Linked DNA regions of Homo sapiens: regions 2 and 3 are each linked to region 1. Evidence: promoter capture Hi-C in 16 types of primary human blood cells and fetal thymus (Javierre and others, 2016). All regions are on one chromosome and are shown on one strand. The core of a region is centred on a gene start or on the middle of the fragment in contact, and the rest is flanking DNA. Distances in the headings are between cores, read along the strand shown.

Region 1 (3,154 bases), core at 411-2,910:
TCCTAGTCTTTTGGAGGCAAGAATTCTTTTGACAATGTTGCGAAAGCTTAAAAAAACAAACAACTACAACAACAAAAAACCTCTCCTAGAAATTGCAGACACACTGTATTTCACCTATAATTTTCAGGATATACCCCAGGTAAAGCACACATTATTCCTTAGGTTCTTCCTAGTTCTCTGTCATCTCTAAATGATTCCTCTTCCTATTAAAAACAAAAACTAAACTAACAAAGAAAAACAAAACAAAAACCTACATTCTAACTGCCATAGTGCAACCCAGGAAGAGAACACAGTCTACAACTTGGCTGGGTAAGCAATAGGCCAGTAAAGGATAAGGGAAGCAGTAGTTCAAATCAAGGCTACGTGGGGACTGCGCTTTTTTGCCCTGAATTGACTTCTGGGCGGCTGAAAGCCTTGTGGAGAAGGGCAGTAACTGCAGGAGAGCATCTGTAATGAATGGCATATAGGGTACTAAGCACCCTGCGCAAAACGGGTTAGGAAACACTCATTACAGCCACCTTGGGCTGAGGGCAGGAAGACAACACCCTACGGTTTTGTTTGTTTTATTACCCTGTTCTAAGCCTGAGTACAAGTTTGTTATCAGACTCGAGGCAGCAGTATAGCAATGCAAAAAAAGGCAGGACAATTTAAGGTTAAAAACGAAGGGCTCTAGAGGACAGAAAATCCGGGTTCTAGTACAGACTACACCAGTCGCACCAGCACGGGGACCTCTGACCTTAAGCAATCTACTTACCCTAAGTCTCCGTTATTTCATCTGTAAAACAGAGTTAAGGTCAATACCTGAAATATGCGAGACACTTTCTCTGTCCCATCAGATCCTCCTTGGAATCTCACGAGATTGCCTTTGAGGGCTCAGCCATGGGCCACAGTTTGACTCTGGGCTAGCTCCTTTCCCTCATTCTGGGTCATGAATGAAGCAAGAGCCAAACCAGACAAAGTCTTGGTCAAGCTAAGACGTCTGGGACATCCGAATGTCCCATACGGATTGCGGAAGGAGGACACTAAGGCTCAGTGGCCCTACTTTGTGGAAGACTCAGTAGAGGCTCAGAGAGCCGCAGCATCCAACTCGAGGTCGCCCAGCGGCTCGGCGCGGCCCTCGAAGGCGGGACTTACCCGGAGGAGCGTGCAAGCTGCGCCGCTCACATTCCCGGAGGCGCTTGGCCCGGCGGCTGGACGAGGGGGATGGCTGGCGCACTCGCGCTCCCCGCTGTCGGCGAGAGGCGGCTCCAGTCGTGACAGCAGCAACAAGGAAGTGGAGGCGAGGGCTCGCGCGCGCATCCCGGGGGCTGAAGGAGCCCCGGCCCCGCGGCCCCGCCCGGCGACACACGGCGCGGAGTCGCGACAGCCCCTCTCGCTTCCCCTCCTCGGAGTCGCGATATGGGGTCCTGAAGGGCAAGAATAGGAGCACAGGTTCGCTCCGCAGGCTCCTCACCGATGCCTGCCGAGGGCCCCGGGGGTCAAGCCCCGGGGAGCTCGAGGAAGACGGCAGGGACACGGTCGTCACCGAGGCACCGGTTTGGCGGCTGCACCGGCAGTAGCGGCACACCACGGATCGCCAGGGAGACCCGTCCCGGCGGCCCTCGCGGCGCACCGGAAGCGGTCGGCAGCGCGTGACTGCATGCGACCCCTGGCGCAAGCGCAACAGCCCAGCCCTAGCTTGGGAGCGGACCCACACGAACTGCTCAAAGGCTTGGAGCGGGTCTAGTAAGGCGAACGGACTGCTTCCGGCCAGAGGTCCCGGGCGGAGGAGGAAGCTGTGGCTGCCGGCGGTGGGACGCCCCGGCCGCTCAGCCCCCGGGCACTGCTGTGGGGCGTTCAGGTAACAGGGGCGGGGCTGTGCTGAGCGTGAGGGATCTAGGCCCCGCCTCACCTTTCAGAGCCACGTCGGGCGCTGGGAAGCCTACAATACCACCCTCTCCTCAGCACGACGTTCAAGGCCTGACCTCAGCCTGTCTCAGTCTTTCCCTCTCATTCAGGATCGGGTTCATACGTAGTGCCGCATCAAGTAGCGCCTTCATCACTCCAGTGATCTGCCCTCAATCCGTCTCTCCCACTGGCCCACGAATAGTGATGGTAGTGAGTTCCTGGAGTGACTCAAGCTGAGCTGAATGACCGTATGGAGAGCTTCCGTAAATCAAATAGGGATTGGATTGGATTGTCCTTTCTCTCCAGTGTCACAAGTTGTCCACATTTGTACAAGTTCCCGCACAACCCTCACTGTATTCCAGTCTGCCTACTTCTCTGCATCTACCGCCATCACCAACCTTCTAGCCACCATCATCTCCTGCCTGGACTGATGTAGTTCTCCCCACATCCCCTCTACAATCCATTCTCCACGAAGCAGTCAGATTGATCATTTTGCACTGTAAGTCTGATCAAGTCACTCCCTGCTTAAAACCCTCCAGTGTCTCATTCACTTAAAATAAAATTCAGACGTCTTAGCTTGACCAAGACTTGTCTGATTTGGCTCTTGCTTCATTCTCTTTCTATGTCTCCTCTCAATATTAGTAGTTCCCAGAACCAGCTATATAGCACTCTGTAGTGTTTGGAGTGCTAGCTTTGTTGTGAGCCTCCTGGGTTTGAATCCCAGCCCTGCCACAAGTAAGCAATATTAAGCAAGTAAAGTGCTTAACAAATGAGGTTTACGCAGTAGATCCTCCCACCTCAGTAAATGGCACCATCATCTGCTGGATTCCTCAGTGCTCAAACCAGAAACCTGGGCGTTATCCTTGACTCCTCCTTCACCTCACATCCGGTCCAGCACAGGGCTTGCAAAAACATAGCCCCAGACTGACTACTACTCACCATCTCTCTATTACTACTCTAATCCAAGCCACCATTATCTCATGTGGACTCCTGCTTTTTTCTCTGATACCCTTCCATTCTTTACACAGCAGTCATCTCTCCTTCCTTAAAATCCTTCAATAGCTTCCTATTGCACTCAAATTAACATCCAAACTGTATATGGCCTACTGGTTTAGCCTGCTTTTATCTTCAGATTTAAGGCCATCTCTTAGGAAAATCAACTTTACCCATTAGGTTCTCTACCCTGCAACCAAAAGACTATATTGTAAATCTGATCATGTCATTCCAGAAAAACAAAACCAAAAAACCGTCAAAAGCCTCTTAATGC
Region 2 (3,195 bases), core at 629-3,128, 190 kb after region 1:
AGAAGCTTCCAGGAGAAGAGTGGGGAGAGTAGTTTATCTTAGTCCCCACAGAAATACCTACAGCATCATCTGAAATCAGACTCAAAGCCACAAACACAAAGTTAAACTCCAGACAAAATAAGTAGACAGAAGAGAGGGGCTCTGAGCCCAGCCTAGAAGAACAGAACATCTTAAACTCAGAGATAAACCAGACCATTGGAAGGGCCTCCCACCAAAACATTTAAGGCAAAAGATCTCAACCCAGCATCCAAGGCCCTTTCTGTGCGGAAGCATCCGGGTTCAGGCTTGCAGAGCTCAACCTTGGTGATTCTCAGCCCTTCACAGCCGGGCTCCAAGCCTTAGCCAAGTAGGTACCTGGTCAGGGCTTGGAGTAAGGCGACCCCACAGGAGGTCACCAGGTCTGGCGGGAGTGGATCTTCCAGTCCAGAGAAGAAGATGGGGTCCAGTGCTCAGAACTGAGCTCCAAGGCTGGGCCAGACCCAGCCAACCAGTAAGAAGCCCAGTTTCCAGGGACCAAGGCAGCTCTGCCTGGTAGGCAGGGCAACAGGATGGAGAAAGCCAGGATCCCTGACACTGCCCTGGGACACCTATCTCAGGATCTGAGAGAGGACTCAACTCAGAGCTCATCAAACTTCTTATCATTTGGAGGGAGTTTTCTGCTACTTGCAGCCAAAGCTAATCCCATCCAGGCCATCTCAGGCCTTTGGTATAACAGGGGCTTTCCTAACCAGCCTCTACTTGACCAACCAACTTGGTTAACCAACACTCCCCACCCTCTCCTGTAATAACACCCTTTACTAATGCCTAAGGTGCCTGAGAGCCTCAGCTGGTCTGCTCCCACCGACTTAGTTGTTTATTTACTAAGATTCAGCTGTTTCTTCCCAAACCCACTCGATAGTGTAATTACAAAATTTCACTAACTGGTCCGTAAACAGAAAATATGAGTACAAAAGACGAGATTTCAATGAAAACTAAGTTGAAGGCTGTGGAAGGATTCAATAAAGTTGAGCTGCTAAAAAGCAAACAACACTGCCATCAAATTTCATGTGAATGAGTTCATGGTAAAAGATTATGAGAAATTTGCAAGAATCAAGAAAGATTCAGCACTCAGACTGCTTGACAAGAGTCAAAGTTCTTGATCCAGCTGAATGCATCCTGAAACTGGAAACTAGAACCCTGGCACTGTGGGTGTGGACTATGGAGGGAAGATGACTTGCGGTTTCAATGCTGGCACCACAAACAGTCCTATAGCAAAAGACTGGCAAAAATGAATATACATGTCATATGGCTTCGCTAAAAGACAACGTAGGCATGTGTTTCACAATTTTGCGCTTTATCTGACTTTTTCCTAGGAATTCCCCTCTGCAGCCTCCCTGCACCTCCCAGCCGTAGTTTCCACTCTCATTAGATAAGAAGGTGACTACTGCACACAGGCTCTGGCCCCCATGACACAGGAAATAAAGTCTTATGATGGACTACCATAACACAGAACCAAGGTTTTGTGTACCGGAAGGGTCTGGAGTAACACTTTTTGTGAATGAATCTCTCAATTTGCAAATTAAGACATTGAGGCTGAGAAAGCGGGAAGAGGGAGTCACCCGAGATCCACACAGCCAGCTCCTCCCAGGGCCGGAACACAAACCGGGATCTCCCGTGTGACCTGTCCAGACCAGTTTCCAGACAGGCCACTTTCTCAACATCTGTGGCCCATCCACCAAAAGTTCTACATTAGATCCATCTCTCTTTAAATGATAAGGGAAAGAGAGAACAGGCAGTCTCCTGGGTAGGTGTTATCTTACAGTCATCTCCTTACCCACTCCTATTGCCTGCAAGCAGCCCCTTATCCACTGAAGATCTGCAAAGTCTCTCGTTGCTGTGTCGGGGTGAGATGACCTGGGGTGAGGCAGCTCCTGGATGGCCTGGCAGGTGGCTGTGCAGAGCCCAGACTCCCCTCCTTCAGCACCGAGGTCAGCTAGGCCCCCCACCCCACCTTCGGCAGCATGGATCCTGGCACCTGTCAGGAGGGTGGCCTATCAGCAGGTACAAGCCTGCCCCAGGCCCAGGAAGGCAGTGTTTCATTTTGTTTGTAAACAATAAGGTTGAAGTATATTCTGCGCAAGGTGTTTTAAGGCAGGGTAATATACACATTGTGTCTGCCTGCACTCACAGTCAATTTTATGCACTTGAACTCAAGGGCCTCTTGAATTCAAAGGAGAGTGGCAGGAAAGCACTTGCTAAACTGTAAAATGATGTACAGGTACATGTTGTTAGGCTTTGTTGAGGCAGGGCTGGCCCTGGCTCATAACTTGCTAGTTACAGGGAGTTGCTTGCCCTCTCCGCATCTCTCAAGACCAGCCTCCCTCCTGGAACAGTTGTGTGGCTTGAGTGTCCACCCCGGGGCCTCTGTGCTGGAGCCTTCCTCAGCCTGGAACGCCTTCTCTCTCCTTCATCTCCCATAGCGGCTCCCTTCTTTCTATCCTCATCCCAGGTTGAACGTCCCTCCCCAGATGGGCCTCCCTGACCACTGCACCCCAAATGGCCATCCCGTCTCTGGCCTACCTAGCACCCTGCTGGAATTCCCTCGATTAGCACTTATCATTCTCTGCTATCCCCTGCCTCCTTTTATCAGTATGTTTTTAAATTGTGGTAAAATATAAATAACATGAAATTGATTAATTTTTTTTTTTTTTTTTTTTTTTTTTTAAGAAAGGATCTCACTCTGTCGCCCGAGCTGGAGTGCAGTAACATGATCATGGCTGATTGCAGCCTTGAATTCCCGGGCTCAAGCAATCCTCCCGCCTCAGCCTCCTTAGTAGCTAGGACTACAGGTGCACACCACCACTCCCAGCTTGCTTGCTTGCTTATCTATCTATCTATCTATCTATCTATCTATCTATCTATCTATCTATCTATGGTAGAGATGGATCTATCTATCTATCTATCTATCTATGGTAGAGATGGATCTATCTATCTATCTATCTATCTATGGTAGAGATGGATCTATCTATCTATCTATCTATCTATCTATCTATCTATCTATGGTAGAGATGGATCTATCTATCTATCTATCTATCTATCTATCTATCTATCTATCTATCTATGGTAGAGATGGATCTATCTATCTATCTATCTATCTATCTATCTATCTATCTATCTATGGTAGAGATGGATCTATCTATCTATCTATCTATCTAT
Region 3 (3,046 bases), core at 474-2,973, 230 kb after region 1:
ATTGCTTGAGCCTGGGAGGTGGAGGTTGTAGTGAGCCAAGATCACACCACTATACTCCAGCCTGGCTGACAGAGCCAGACCTTGTCTAAAGAAAAACCCTATCGCTGAGTGGCAAGTGCCAATTAAGCTGCATCTGGTGGCCTTAAAAATATATTTGTGACAACTTCAAATCTCCATACGTTCTGGATTAAAATCAAGGCGGAATATCCGGAGACTGCCACAAAGCACTGAAAAGCCTGCTTCTATTTCCAACATCCTATCCCTGTGAAGCAGGGTTTTCTGCAGCGACAGCAACCAAAACAAGATTACGGAGGAGACTGGACATAAGCAACCCACTTTGGGTGTCACTATCTCCCATCACCCCCAGATGGGACCATCTAGTTGCAGGAAAACAAGCTCAGGGCTCCCACTGATTCTACATTATGGTGAGTTGATAATTATTTCATTACATATTACAATGTAATAATAATAGAAATAAAGTACACAATACATGTAATGCACTTGAATCATGCAGAAACCATCTTCCCTGCATCCGCCACCCCCCACCCCCAACCCCATCTGTGGAAAAACTGTCTTCCATGAAACCAGTCCCTGGTGCCAAAAAAGTTGGAGACCGCTGGTGTAGACAAAAGAGAGTTCCAGAGGAGTGGAGTCCAGCTCAGTGATCCTGCCAGATGTCCAAAGGGAATGGGATACCCCAGTGAGAATGTTCAGTCCCTGGAGCTACACAGCTGAATAGATACTGTATTTTCCAGGGATGTTAAGACAGGCTTTCTTACTTGGGAAGGAACTGAGAGGGTTCTAGATTTCTAGGGTTGTTACCTACAATGGGAATGATGCTCCAGCCTCATCTTCTAAGATCTGACTCTGCTTACTCTGAGACCCCATGTCTGTGAGCACATCCTAATGCCATCTCTCCACACAGCCTTTCAAAGCTTCCTGATGTCTCCATGAATGCAAAGAAAAAAATCAGGAAGAAGGCTCTTCCCCTGGGAGTCCTGAATAAGCCATCATTTCTAAACAATCATTCATTATCAAGGAATCTTTCTAGTCTGCCTCTCCCAGACCATATCTCATAGAGCGGGGAAAAAGGCTGGAGGCACAAGCATGCATGTGTGGGCTCTGGGACTTCCCTGCATGAACACCCACATAGGTCCCAAAGCTTACCACTGTGAACCGAACACCCCAACCCACACCTTCCTCTCCCAGCAAAGCCAGCAAGGGAAATGGGCCGAGATGCCCAACTTTACAGAAAGAGGACTGTTGTTTTCTAGTGCAAGGAAGACTTCCTCCCCTGGCATGAGGGATATCCTTACCATGGACCAAAGAGTTTCCAGGACAGCTCTCTAGCCACTCAATGCAGGGACCTGGTCCTCATCTCCGACAGCCTCGTCAGCTGAACCAACTTGGAAAGGAACATGCTGGTTCTGTTTCCTCCTCATAGCCCTGCTACCACCCCTCTGGGCTGGTTCCAGATGCAGGTTCTCAAAGTGCAAGCAGGAAACCTGCTTCTCTGAGAGCCATTCAGAGAAAACCTACTTTCCCCAAAGAGGCCACCTAACTGCCTTTGTGGGGGGACAGGGAGCAGTGAGGAGGAGGGGACAGATAATTTAATAATCACCCCATATTTGCCTTTAGTAGAATCCAATGAAATCATGATGGGTGCTATTGTGCTCTGTCAAGGACACGGGCAGGACTGCAGAGTATAATCCCAGGCCCTATGGCAGAAATCAAGAATGCAGCCCGTGACACCCTCTAGAATCCAGGAACAGGACAGATATTTTGGTTGAGAGGTTACTTACTAGGAGGTTTAATCATCATCCTGCCTGGTTCACATTTCCAGCTCTGCCACATGAAAGCTCTGTGTTATCAGGCAAGTTACTCAGTTACTTCTGAGCCTCAGTTTCCCTTTTTGAAATACATGACACTAATAATATTGATCTTGCTAAGTAGGATGGACTACAAAGGATAGATGCAAAGTGCTAGTCAAGCTGTCTGCCCTAGAAAAAGACCTTAATAAGCGATACCTTTAAATATATAGATTAACTGATTATTAAGGCTCTGCTAGGTCTGGTACTCTGTTTTTAATCCAGTAAAGATATTTTATTTTAGCCTGTTCTTCCTGGTTACCTTGTTGCCTAAACCACATAACTTTAGATTTTCTGATTTCTTATCATAATCATAATCATAAATTTAAAAACAAGACTTAAAATAAAAACACTAAACCTGCAATTTGAGTAGGCTGCCACAAGGTGGCAACATCATTTGTAAGGTCCAAGCTTTGCCTGAGGGTTCAGAGGTGATAGCTTTGCTACTGGTTCACAGATTAGTAATCACAACATTTCTATATGTATTCATTTTTTTTAAAACTCCTTATTAAAATAACAGCCTTAAATAAACTGGGCAATTACTATGTGCCAGGTATTGTCAAGTACTTTAAATACACTATCTAATTTAATCCTAAAACAATCTCACAGATTGGGGCTTTATTATCTCCATTTTTTTTTTTTTTTTTTTTTTGAGACGGAGTCTCACTCTGTCACCCAGGCTGAAGTGCAATGGCGCGATCTCAGCTCACTGCAAGCTCCACCTCCCGGGTTCACGCCATTCTCCTGCCTCAGCCTCCCGAGTAGCTGGGACTACAGGCACCCGCCACCACGCCTGGCTAATTTTTTGTATTTTTTTTAGTACACACGGAGTTTCCCCGTGTTGGCCAGGATGGTCTTGATCTCCTGACCTTGTGATCCGCCCGCCTCGGCCTCCCAAAGTGCTGGTCGATGTTTAGAAATAAGGAACTGAAGTCTCAGAGGGGTGGAGTGACATAATCTGCAACAGATAAGACCTAACTGAGTTCACCACTGGGCAACTTTTACAGCCATCGACCTCACAGACCAGAGGAGATATGACATTGTCCTTCCCATTTTCTCGACTAGGAGTAAACCTAGATTTGACCCCAGTCTCACATCTTTGGACTTCTGGTCAGGGGTGGTTCTGCTCCAGAGATGGTTCTGCTCCATCGGGCTAGGCCTGAGCTCGGGGTCCTGGA

What was found. The method cuts DNA at HindIII sites, captures the fragments that hold promoters and counts their contacts. A CHiCAGO score of 5 or more calls a contact.
Region 2: a fragment that was not itself captured here is called in contact with the fragment with the promoter of TIGD6 in region 1 in 1 of 17 cell types (erythroblasts); the score reaches 8.6 in erythroblasts.
Region 3: a contact is called between a fragment that was not itself captured here and the fragment with the promoter of TIGD6 in region 1, in 1 of 17 cell types (erythroblasts). The highest score is 5.3, in erythroblasts.

Annotation. Positions count from the first base shown.
Region 1 is chr5:149,999,160-150,002,313 of GRCh38, reverse strand. It overlaps TIGD6 (tigger transposable element derived 6), which reads left to right and starts at 1,660. Exons shown (of 2, transcript NM_030953.4): 1 at 1,660-1,840. HMGXB3 (HMG-box containing 3) reads right to left here and starts at 1,575. Exons shown (of 20, transcript NM_014983.3): 1 at 1,135-1,575. RefSeq lists enhancers at 681-760, 1,648-2,436 and a silencer at 1,841-1,920. The HindIII fragment of the contact is 5,274 bases long and covers 49-3,154 here.
Region 2 is chr5:149,809,196-149,812,390 of GRCh38, reverse strand. The region is part of intron 1 of PPARGC1B (PPARG coactivator 1 beta); the gene reads right to left. Among named protein-coding and RNA genes, the nearest start is that of MIR378A, 78 kb to the right of the region's middle. The HindIII fragment of the contact is 3,742 bases long and covers 8-3,195 here.
Region 3 is chr5:149,765,335-149,768,380 of GRCh38, reverse strand. All of the region lies in intron 1 of PPARGC1B (PPARG coactivator 1 beta), which reads right to left. Among named protein-coding and RNA genes, the nearest start is that of MIR378A, 34 kb to the right of the region's middle. The HindIII fragment of the contact is 1,117 bases long and covers 1,165-2,281 here.